Regions from separate parts of the Homo sapiens genome. Here regions 2, 3 and 4 are each linked to region 1. Evidence: promoter capture Hi-C in 16 types of primary human blood cells and fetal thymus (Javierre and others, 2016). All regions are on one chromosome and are shown on one strand. Each heading gives the region's core, a stretch centred on a gene start or on the middle of the fragment in contact. The rest is flanking DNA. Distances are from core to core; before and after follow the strand shown. Region 1 holds the start of CEP295NL (CEP295 N-terminal like). Region 2 holds the start of C1QTNF1-AS1 (C1QTNF1 antisense RNA 1). Region 3 holds the start of CANT1 (calcium activated nucleotidase 1). Region 4 holds the start of LGALS3BP (galectin 3 binding protein).

Evidence for each region. Contacts are between HindIII fragments. The CHiCAGO score rates a contact against its expected background, and 5 or more counts as called.
Region 2: a contact is called between the fragment with the promoter of C1QTNF1-AS1 here and the fragment with the promoter of CEP295NL in region 1, in 6 of 17 cell types (erythroblasts, neutrophils, total B cells and 3 more). The highest score is 12.2, in erythroblasts.
Region 3: the fragment with the promoter of CANT1 here is called in contact with the fragment with the promoter of CEP295NL in region 1 in 5 of 17 cell types (neutrophils, total B cells, endothelial precursors and 2 more); the score reaches 10.4 in neutrophils.
Region 4: the fragment with the promoter of LGALS3BP here is called in contact with the fragment with the promoter of CEP295NL in region 1 in 6 of 17 cell types (neutrophils, total B cells, M2 macrophages and 3 more); the score reaches 8.7 in neutrophils.

Annotation. Positions count from the first base shown.
Region 1 is chr17:78,901,908-78,904,485 of GRCh38, reverse strand. CEP295NL (CEP295 N-terminal like) reads left to right here and starts at 1,285. Exons shown (of 3, transcript NM_001243540.2): 1 at 1,285-1,352; 2 at 2,560-2,578. All of the region lies in intron 1 of TIMP2 (TIMP metallopeptidase inhibitor 2), which reads left to right. RefSeq lists an enhancer at 1,506-2,106. The HindIII fragment of the contact is 4,047 bases long and covers 201-2,578 here.
Region 2 is chr17:79,026,368-79,028,945 of GRCh38, reverse strand. It overlaps C1QTNF1-AS1 (C1QTNF1 antisense RNA 1), which reads left to right and starts at 1,291. Exons shown (of 3, transcript NR_040019.1): 1 at 1,291-1,570. All of the region lies in intron 1 of C1QTNF1 (C1q and TNF related 1), which reads right to left. The HindIII fragment of the contact is 3,661 bases long and covers 1-2,578 here.
Region 3 is chr17:79,008,462-79,011,039 of GRCh38, reverse strand. It overlaps CANT1 (calcium activated nucleotidase 1), which reads left to right and starts at 1,276. Exons shown (of 5, transcript NM_001159773.2): 1 at 1,276-1,376. RefSeq lists an enhancer at 887-936 and a silencer at 1,177-1,556. The HindIII fragment of the contact is 10,955 bases long and covers 1-2,578 here.
Region 4 is chr17:78,978,622-78,981,199 of GRCh38, reverse strand. LGALS3BP (galectin 3 binding protein) reads left to right here and starts at 1,277. Exons shown (of 6, transcript NM_005567.4): 1 at 1,277-1,376. RefSeq lists an enhancer at 251-1,243. The HindIII fragment of the contact is 6,269 bases long and covers 1-2,578 here.

The sequences.
Region 1 (2,578 bases), core at 36-2,535:
AAAGGGCTTTGTCTCAGGTTCAGCTCTCCTGAGAATTCATCCTCCCCGAGATTTGGACACCTCAGCCGAATTCCTGCTGTTTACCTTCTTCTCTCAAGAAACAACAACCTGAGGATTGTTGCTTTCACTTCTTCGGACCCAAATCATGATTTCCCAGCCACATTTCTCAGTTGTCAAATTTGTGGAGGATGCTGGAAGCTTCTAGTGAGTTGCTTACAGATGATCCAACTGGCGGCTTACTAAAACATATCTTGGGCTGGGGGCGGTGGCTCGTGCCTATAATCCTAGCACTTTGGGAGGTCGAGGCAGGGGAATCGCTTGAGGTCAGGAGTTCAAGACCCGCCTAGCCAACATGGTAAAACCCCGTCTCTGCTAAAACACACACACACACACATAAATTAGCTGGGCATGGTGGCATGCACCTGTAGTCCCAGCTACTCAGAAAGCTGAGGCACTAGAATCCCTGAACCCGGGAGGCAGAGGTTGCAGTGAGCCGAGATTGCGCCACCGTACTCCAGCCTGGGCAACAGAGCAAGACTGTCTAAAAAACAAACAAAAAACATATCTTGACAATGCCAGTCATCACTTTACCACAGACCTTAAGATGCCAACCACCCAGACTAGGTCAGGGGCCCCCATTTCCAGCAGCTACTCCTGCTTCCTGGAAACCCCCTGCACCGGCCAGACTCCCCCAGTGTCCCATGTTCATCCCCAGCCTCGCCCTGCCAGCTTCCCTCGCCCATCCTTCTGATCAAACTGTCTGTGGGGAACTAGCCCTCAAACGAGGCCAAGTACGTGTGGCTTCTCCTCCTGTGTGGGCAGGTGGTTGACGGGATTCTTTCTTCCCCCGCCTCCAGTGGGTTTCAGTTTAACGATGGCTTTCTGGAGCTGTTTAGAAGCGTGAACAGATGCTGTCCCTACAGGAGAAGGGATGGCAGGCGTTGTCAGGAACCCTGACCTTGAAGTGTACCTCCTTAATGGCCTGACAGCTCAGAGAGAATGACACCCTGGGAGGTCTCCATGCAGCCAGCTGGGGACAAAAAGATGTCCTCTGCCTGGTATGGCCACGAGCATTTGTACATTGCACTGTCCTTGTTCACCCACACCTCCTTAAACAGTGCCTTCAGGTGCCCCCATGGCTCCCGGCTGCTTGAGCCAAATCTTTATGATTGATCCCCTAACCTACACGCTTGCCCCCTGGCTGGCTCACAGCTGTCCCTGACCTCACCCCTGCCATGATGTCACAGCTCAACAGCTCTGCTGTTCCCATGGCAACAGCCTGCTATGAGTAGCCAGCCAGGGCAGAGGCCGGGCTGCAGGTGGAGGCGGGGAAGCGATTCCGGCCACCTTTGGTCAGTGGGCCCCTGAGACCACTGCGGGGCTGAGGCTCTCTGTGTCTGTTCCCATCTGTGGTGAGGGTGGGGTTCTTTCCATGCCCAGCTGTTTAGCGAGGCTCCCAAGAGGGCCCCGGAGAGTGGGCCAAGGAGGGGCTCCAAGCCGTGGGTTCGCAAGGCCAGCGGCAAAGTCCCTGCACCACGGGGCTCCCCACAGGCAGTGTGATGGGAAGGAGAGTGAGGGAAGCTGGTGGGACTGGGTTGGAGATGAATATGGTTGTTGGAGGAGTTGGGCTGGGGGGTCTTCAGGAAGCAGGAACACCTGCTGGGATTGGGGACCCCTGACCTAGGCTGGGTGCTTAGGATCTTGAGGTTTGCAGGGAAGCGGTAATGGACGCTGTCGAGGTATGTTTAGTGAGCCACCGGTTGCATCAGCTGTAAGCCCCCCACGTGGGGAGCTGGCGTCTCAGCTGGGAGTTTGGAGGTCAGTCTGCCTCAGTGTCTGTCTCTGTGAAGCTGGTCAAGGGGAGGCCTGAGCCCGAGCTTGCCCCCAGAGGCTGCCTGCCCAACCATCTCCACCCTGGAGAGCTGACCCAGCCCAGGATATGGATACACACAGATTCATGAGCTGTGGCCCCAGTATTCGGGTGGAAAAGCCTGCTGTGGGCCTAGCCAGGACTCATTCTAACGTGACCCACCCCTGCCCCAGGTGATGCTAACACAGCCAGTCCAAAACCCAGTGCAGGCTGGGCATGGTGGCTCATGCCTGGAATCCCAGCACTTTGGGAGGCCGAGGCGAGTGGATCACCTGAGGTCAGGAGTTTGTAACCAGTCTGACCAATATGGTGAATCCCCGTCTCTACTAAAAATACAAAAATTAGCTGGGTGTGGTGGCGTGCGCCTGTAGTCCCAGCTACTTGGGAAGGCTGAGACAGGAGAATTGCTTGAACCCGGAAGGTGGAGGTTGCAGTAAGCTGAGATCGCACCACTGCACTCCAGCCTGGGCAACATAGTGAAACCAAAACCCAGTGCAGTGGCTTGGGACCCCCGTCCCCCCGCCACCACTGGGACGTGGCTAAGAGTTGGGGAGAAGAGGGCGAAAACCAAGCCTCTGGCAGCACACAGCGTGTCATGGAGGGTATTTTTAGAGGCTAGAACTCAGAGAAACGGAGTTAAAAATGTTTCTGATGTTTGTTTTATCTGGGCTTGGTTCGGATGCCTCCAGTGATGGGCGTCTCACTACC
Region 2 (2,578 bases), core at 42-2,541, 120 kb before region 1:
CACAGGATCACCAGGAACACCCGCGCGTGCATGCACACACACACACACACACACACACACACCTTAAAATGTGAGGGGCTTGGGCAGTGTGGCCCATCGGATGTGCATTTTTAGGGCACTGCTTTTGTAGGGTGAAGAGACACCAGCATGCTGGCAAGCTCTGAAGAAGGGAGGAAAAGACCCATGTGCTGGGGTACAGATGATTTTTCTCTCCCGACCAGTGCCCTCTAATGGGCACAAGCAGACCTGAGCTCTGAGTTGCAAAGGAATCTAAGTTCACGCACCACACGGGGAGGACCCTCAGGACCATGGGCCTTGCCCTCATTGATATCCTTTCATGGAGGAGGGGGCTCCCCTGAATGCCAGAGGACGCAAGAGACCTGTGGTCACCCCCTAACCCACCCAGATCCTTCCATCTCTCACTTTAGATTCTTTACAAGGAGAATGGGTCTAAGCGTTTTCTGAACACACCTCTGTCCCCAGCTCTGAAGACTGGCCCCAGGAACCTGTGGGCAGAGTCAGGGGGCCCTGCCCGCCTTCTGACCTACATCTGCCTCGAACCCACCCAGGGCTGGCAGCTTTCCCAGCAGCTTCCCTGCTCCCCAGGGCAGAGGGTGGCTGTTATCCAGATGTCTTGCTGAGGGGGATGGGTACAACCCAAAGCATAGGGTTTGGGGCATTCCACCAAGTGTGGCTTTAGCCGTGGCCAAGAACAACATTTGACCCAGCACAGGGCACCAAGAACTTGACTTCCCCATGCCCCGCCTGCCTGTCTGCCTCTTCTCCTCCTCCCCTCGACTCCTGCCTCCCTGCCTGCCGTCTCCTGCTCTACTCTGTCTCGTGTCAAGGAAAATTCCTACAGGAGCCAGGGAGATGGGCAGACACCGGCCCGGCCACAGCCGTCCCGACGGCCGTCCTGGACAGGATGGGGGCCCGGGGAGGGGCCTGCAGTCTGTGCCAGCCCCATCTGAAGCTGGAGAACGGCTTAGATCCAGGGGGCCTCAGAGGCAAGATAGCAGTGCCCTGGTGTACAGTGGGGACTGTGGGGGTCCCCGTGCCCCTGCTGGAGACCATCCCCCTTTGAACCACATTCAGATGCCAAGCCCAGCTCTGGAAATCAAATGTAGGCAAGAACAGGCAGCTGGAGGGGTGCTGATTTGCCAAGAGCCACTCATATCACCCCAGCACAAGTGTCACACAGCCGTGACCTTGACAAGGACCCAGAGATAAAGATCCTTCCCACATGGCTCCGAAGCCCCTCCCTTCCTGCTCACACCGCATGCCTCTCCCAGAGAACTAGAGGCTGCAGCGGCAGCAGTTGGAGCATCTCACTGCGGGGCTCGGGAAGGAGGAAAGGAGTGAGCATGTCCTGCTCCTGCATGTCCCTGCTTAAGCTCAGGACTGGCCCTTCCAGGCCAAGGACCCCAGCATAGACCCCAGGACAGGGCCCCAAGGATCCCTGGCTCATGAGAGCGGCTTGCTGGGCTGCCCCAAGAGAGCCTGAAGGAAACACATTGTTGAGCTGAGCTGACGTCGCTGTTTCTTCCAGACTGCTCTCTAAAGTGGGCAGGTGAGTTCTTGCCCTGTATGAAGGGGTCAGGGAGATGGCAGGGTCCTGTCCAGAGAGCTGCCTTGTGCCATTTGACACCAGCAGGCCAATTTCAGCAGGTTAACAGGGGAAATGGCAACCTGTGGCCCATGAGGGAGTGCCCCCACTTGAACATCTCTAGAGGCTACTGATTGTCAGGCAGAGGTGGGATCGTCCAGGGGATGGTGTAACCTGCTACTTCTTCCTGCCCTTCCTGGTGTCCGTCACCCCCACCCCTTCCCTAAGGTTCTGGAGCCTCAGCCACAGCCCCCCCCCGCCCAGGAACAGGGACCCCTGAGGACAAGACACAAATGGGAAGCTCCAGTCCCTGCGCACAACTGTATCTATGAAATTCTTTTCATCTTTGTTTTGATGAGCAAAGTTCAATGCCAGAATATTTGGTTTATGAGTCATGCTAATTACAGCTGGGGGGAGGCACCAGGAAGAAGAACAGAAAGGAGCATGTTCCAAAAACACTCTGTTGTCCTGGTTGCCCTGAAAAGGGGGGTCACTTCCTAGGAACAAGGAGGGAACCCATGGCCTTCCTGGGACAGCTTGGGCTTTCTCTGCTCCTACTTGGGAGGACGTCCCTCGCCAGCTGGCTGCACCTGCCTGGGAGGGGCAGTGGTGTCCTGTAGCCGCACAGCGCCCACCTAGGGCTTCCTGCACCATGCTTCCTGCCTCCCTGAATGAGCTCACTGGGGACACCACCCTTGGCAACACAAGAGGAGGAGAGGGAGGCGGGAGGAGAAGTAGAGAGTCCCTGGGTAGCGGACCTGTGTCCTTCCTGCCCCTGGGCATTCTCTGTTAGCAGCTGGGAGAGAGAAGTTCCCAGCATCAGCTTGGCGAGCTGAGTGCCATGTTCCCAACACCAGATAGGAAGGTTAAAAGTATACGCCCCGGAGGCCAGGCGCGGTGGCTCACCCCTGTAATCCCAGCACTTTGGAAGGTTGAAGCGGGTGGATCACTTGAGGTCAAGAGTTTGAGACC
Region 3 (2,578 bases), core at 27-2,526, 110 kb before region 1:
GTCAATTGATCAGTGAGGGTGGGGCAGGAACAGATCACAATGGTGGAATGTCATCTTTTGTGGTTCTTCAGTTGCTTCAGGCCATCTGGATGTATATGTGCAGGTCACAGGGGATATGATGGCTTAGCTTGGGCTCAGAGGCCTGACAATAATGAGTATTATGTGAGACATGGTTGGGACTCAGTTTAGCATGACAAGAAACATTAATGAATTCAAGAAAGGTTTGTCTCCTCTCCAAAATCAAAAACCAAAAGTGCATAACAGTGTTTAGCACATTTCTATTTAGTTAAAGGTAATTTAAGATACGTGTTTATGACTTGTTTGGATACCATATAACATCTAGTGATCGCCTCTGGGCAGGGAATACAGAACGGCAATGGGAGGCTTATTTTTCATTGCGTACCATTTATATAATTTGAATTCCTCCTCTTGTGTATCTTTTACTGAACGGAAGGTTTTGAGAGAGCTGGGGGAAGTAGCTGGTATCAAGCAGGAAAGCTGAAGGTGCAGATGGGCAGGGGGCTGGTGCACCCTTCTGCCAAGCTCTCCTGCCAGAGGCTCCACGGCCACCAGGCCTTTCTCAGAACTTTGGGATGGAGGAGGGCGGGGCCGGGGAAGCCTTTTAACAGAGTGCCCTAAAATATCTCGGGGGCTAGGGCTACGGAGGGGAAAGGAGAAATCAGAGACCCTTGTTTGGCAGGTTTGTCAACTGCAGATTTTTTGCAGGGAAACACCCCACCGTCCCCACCCCAGGACACTACAGCCTTAGACCTCCCTGATCCTGGCTTTGGCAACTGGTCAGCAGCACTCTGGAGGCGGCTGTTTTGAAGGGCCAAGGAGAGGGGCTGCCTGAGAATGAGGATGGCAGAAAGGGGCCCACGGTTTTCCGCCTCCCAAGACTACGAGGGTCGGGAGGCCCATGTAAGGGGGCCCTCGCTCGGAGAATGAGAACTTCCCTCCCTAGTAGCCTTCACCCCCCTCAATGCCTCCCACCCCAAAAGATCTGCTGGGCCCACGTTCCAGCGCAACGCGGTGGAAGACGGCCCTCATGTGCCAGTGCGGACCCTCGCGCCCCTCCAGCCTGCAGCCAGCCGGCCGCTCCTCCAGCGCGCAGGCGCAGGACGGAAAAAAAAAACACAAAAAAACAACAAAAAAAAAACCCAAAAAAACACAAACCACAGCTCCCAGCAGCCCTCGCGCCGTCCGCGCGCAGCCGCAGAGCAGAGGCTGCCGGGAACGCGGGCCCAGAGGCGGGGCGAGCGCGCGCGGGGCGGAAGTCGGCCACCTTCCTCCGTCCCGGCCGTTAGCCCAGCCAAGCCCAGCCAAGCCCAGCCAAGCCCCGCCGATCGCGGGCACCGGAGCCAGCCCCGCAGCGGGTGAGTGACTGCGCCCGCGGCCGCCGGCGCCCTGCCCCAGCCACGGGCCCGGACCCCCGTCCCGGAGCCTGCCGCCGCCCTCCGACCCTGCCGCGTCCCGCCCCCTGACCCGTCAGGCCCCCTTCCCGTCCCACCCGTGCGGGATCTCTGCCCCCTGACTCGCAGACTGGGCTGGGACTCTGCCCTCTGACCTGTGGGAAAGTCCCCTTCTTCCGACAGGCGGTGGACACCACCCCCTCTGACTTTTGGGACACCTCATCCCTGGGACTAGCGTGGGGACCATTACCCTCTGGTTAGTGTGGGCACCCCTCCTCTCTAATTAGTGTGGGGACCATTCCCCTCTGATTAGTGTGGGCACCTCCCCCCTCTGATTATGTGACTCCTCCCCGCTCTGATTAGTGTGGGACACCCCCCTTCTAATTAGTTTGGGGACCATCCCCCTCTGATTACTGTGGGGCACCTCCCCGCTCTGATTAGTGTGGGGACCACCCCCCTCTGATTCATGTGGGGCACCTCCCCCTCTGGTTAGTGTGGGGACCATCCCCCTCTGATTAGTGTGGGACGCCTCCCCGCTCTGGCTAGTGTGGGGCACCCCTCCTGGGAATGACCCCCTCCCACCACCTTCTGACTTCAAATACCCCTCCTCTGGTCTATGCAGGGTCTCCTTGGACTGATAAGGGAATTTTCTCCCTCTGACTGGCACTTGGTCAAACCTGTAACAGGCCAACCTTCCCCACCCCATCCCAGTCCTTGCTCTCCCTGCCCTCATCCAATTTGGAGCCTTCCTCCAGGCACACAGCTCACTCTCATCTTCCTGCATGCAAATGATTCGCCCTCCCCACCATACCTGTCTCACACCCCTACTGCCATCCGGTCTGGATTCTCTCATCCTTGGAGACTGGTACCTCCTTGCCAGTCCATGTTGCCTGGTGCCTTTGCTTCTCCCTCCGAATGGTCTTTCCCTTGCCCTCTGTGTACCCTAGGCTTGGCACAGAGCACCTGTGACCACTCTTCCATCAGCAGACACATCTCTCTCCCAAACACCTTTCCCCCTTAGTGACCCCTGGAAAAGCCGTCTCTTAGTGTCCCAGCTCCATTTCTTATTTTATTCTTGAGGTTGTATGCCCTATGGCCTTTCCTACCACATTTTCAACAAAGCAGAGGTTTGGAAATGTGAGGCTCTTGGTGTCAAGTGAATCCGG
Region 4 (2,578 bases), core at 28-2,527, 77 kb before region 1:
GGAACCAGGGCCTTCCACCCAGTGGGACTGCCTGGGGGCTTTTAAATGCCCCTGCCTGTCCCCTACTCCCAGAGATGGTGACTTCCTGGGTCTAGGCATTAGGAGTTTGTAAAACTCCCTGATGATTCTTCTGTCCAGCCCAGGCTGAGAACCACTGGTCAGAGGCCTGGGCACATCCCAAGGCTCATCCAGAACCATGGGGTGCAAGTGACAGAAACAAGAGCGGCTGCTGATTGCCTCACTGAGCGGTGAAGCCCAGCCTTGACCATGGATTAGGCCAGCTGGACCCAGGAGCTCAGGCCGGAGGATGCCTGCTTCCCTCTGCTCTGCCCCACCGGCCCCAGCAGCCTGGGCCCACATCCTCTCAGTCAGAAGCTGGCTCTCACCGGCTGGCTGGGCTCACAGCCCCACCCTGAAACCAGCAGTGTGGCCCGGGGCCCCCGCAGGGCTCAGACAGCCAGGCCTTGGGTGGTTGAAGGCCAAGAGCTGGGGGCCCTCTGGGAACCACACAGCCGGGAATGGGAGGGGGTGCTCCCCAAGGGACAGTTGAGGTGCCGGCTTTCAGTGGGAGGAAAGGGAATGGGTATGAGCTGGACAGAGCCATTATGTCACCCAGAGAGGCTCTGTCCCCCGCCCCGCTGAGGGGGAGACAGTAGGAGAGTGGCCACAGGTCCAGCAGTGGCGAGCACAGGCTCTGGGGTCAGGTGTTGGAGCAGGGTCCAGCTCCTCCACTGGCCAGCTGCATACCTGGTTCTCAGTGCCTCCCTCCCCTGGGGACAGGGGACAGTGCCATGCAACCTTGTGGGGCACAGGCCCTCTGTGTGGTCAGCATGCCAAGAGCACAGAGAGGGTGGATTTGCACATAAGCAGCCCCCTGTGTGGTGTTCACCCAGCCAGCAACGTGCTAGACCCAGGAAAAGACTCGGAGCGCTCTGTCAGAGTCCACAGCCACACCACCAGGTGCAGACTGTCTGGGCCCAGAGCCTCTGCTTCTTCCCCTCCCGTCCACCAAACGCCAGCCCCTGACCAGCCTGGCGGCCTTTCCAACTGAGTGTGGCTGTTAGTCCTCTTGCAGGCCTTGCTCCAGCCAGACTCCCACCTTGGGCCTCTGCCAGCCTGGCACTGATAGCCACAGGCAGAGCTGAGACAAAAGAGAGGGGCCCTGGGGAGTATCAGCAGCAGCCAATCCCGGAAGACATCTATGTCAGGTGGTTTCTGGAAATCGAAAGTAGACTCTTTTCTGAAGCATTTCCTGGGATCAGCCTGACCACGCTCCATACTGGGAGAGGCTTCTGGGTCAAAGGACCAGTCTGCAGAGGGATCCTGTGGCTGGAAGCGAGGAGGCTCCACACGGCCGTTGCAGCTACCGCAGCCAGGTAAGCTCCTGCCTCTAGCTCTCAGGTGGGCACCCCTCTCAGTCTCTCTCTCTTTTTTATTTTTATTTTTTTTGAGACAGGGTCTCACTCTGTCACCCAGGCTGGAGTACAGTGATGCAATGTCCGCTCACTGCAGCCTCTGCCTCCTGGGTTCAAACGATTCTCCTGCCTCGGCCTCCCAAGTAGCTGGGATTACAGGCGCGTGCCACCACGCCCAGCTAATTTTTGTATTTTTAGTAGAGACAGGGTTTCGCCATCTTGGCCAGGCTGGTCTCAAACTCCTGACCTCTGGTGATCCACCCGCCTCGGCCTCCCAAAGTGTAGGGATTACAGGTGTGAGCCACCGCGCCCGGCCAGGGCACCCCTCTCTCTACACAGGCAAGTGGGGGTCATGCCTCCCTGTTTGCACATAGGCCTGGAGCTGGGGATCCAGGGCTCCTGAGTCCAGCAACAATCATTGCTGCTCCCAGGCCCACAGGGCCTCTGTGTACAGTTGGGCAGATTACTCACTGCACAAGGATACCAGCCAAAGGGCAAGTGGGTTAGAATTCAGCTTGGCCCTCTCTCAGACCTGTGCATTTGGCCTAGGCCTGCACCCACTCCAAGGAAGAGCACCTTTTTTTCTGATTTGCACGAAGGGGCCAACACAGGCAGCCGGGTCTCAACTGTATGAAGGAATCAGGCAAAAATAGCCGCTGCCACACAAAGGGCAGCGACGCCACCTGCCAGGTGCTTCGTTGCCCCCCCCCCTTTTTTTTTTGAGACAGAGTCTTGCTCTGTCACCCAGGCTGGAGTGCAGCGGCTCACTACAATCTCTGCCTGCCGGATTCAAGCAATTCTGTTGCCTCAGCCTCCTGAGTAGCTGGGACTACAGGTGCACACCACCATGCCCAGCTTATTATTATTATTATTTTGTATTTTTAGTAGAGCCGGGGTTTCACCATGTTGGCCAGGCTGGTCTTGAACTCCTGACCTCAAGTGATCCACCTGCCCCAGCCTCCCAAAGTTCTGGGATTACAGGCGTGAGCCATCGCGCCTGGCCAGTTGGCCATTTTTCCAAGGCCCTGAGTTACTCTCCCAGGACGGACAAACCTAGTGGCTGCAGCAGAGTGAAGTGGCTGGGGGCAGAAGTGGAGAGGGCGTCCACCCATACCGGCGTGCCTGGGACTGAGGGGTTTCCCAGGACACAGGGAAACTTCAGT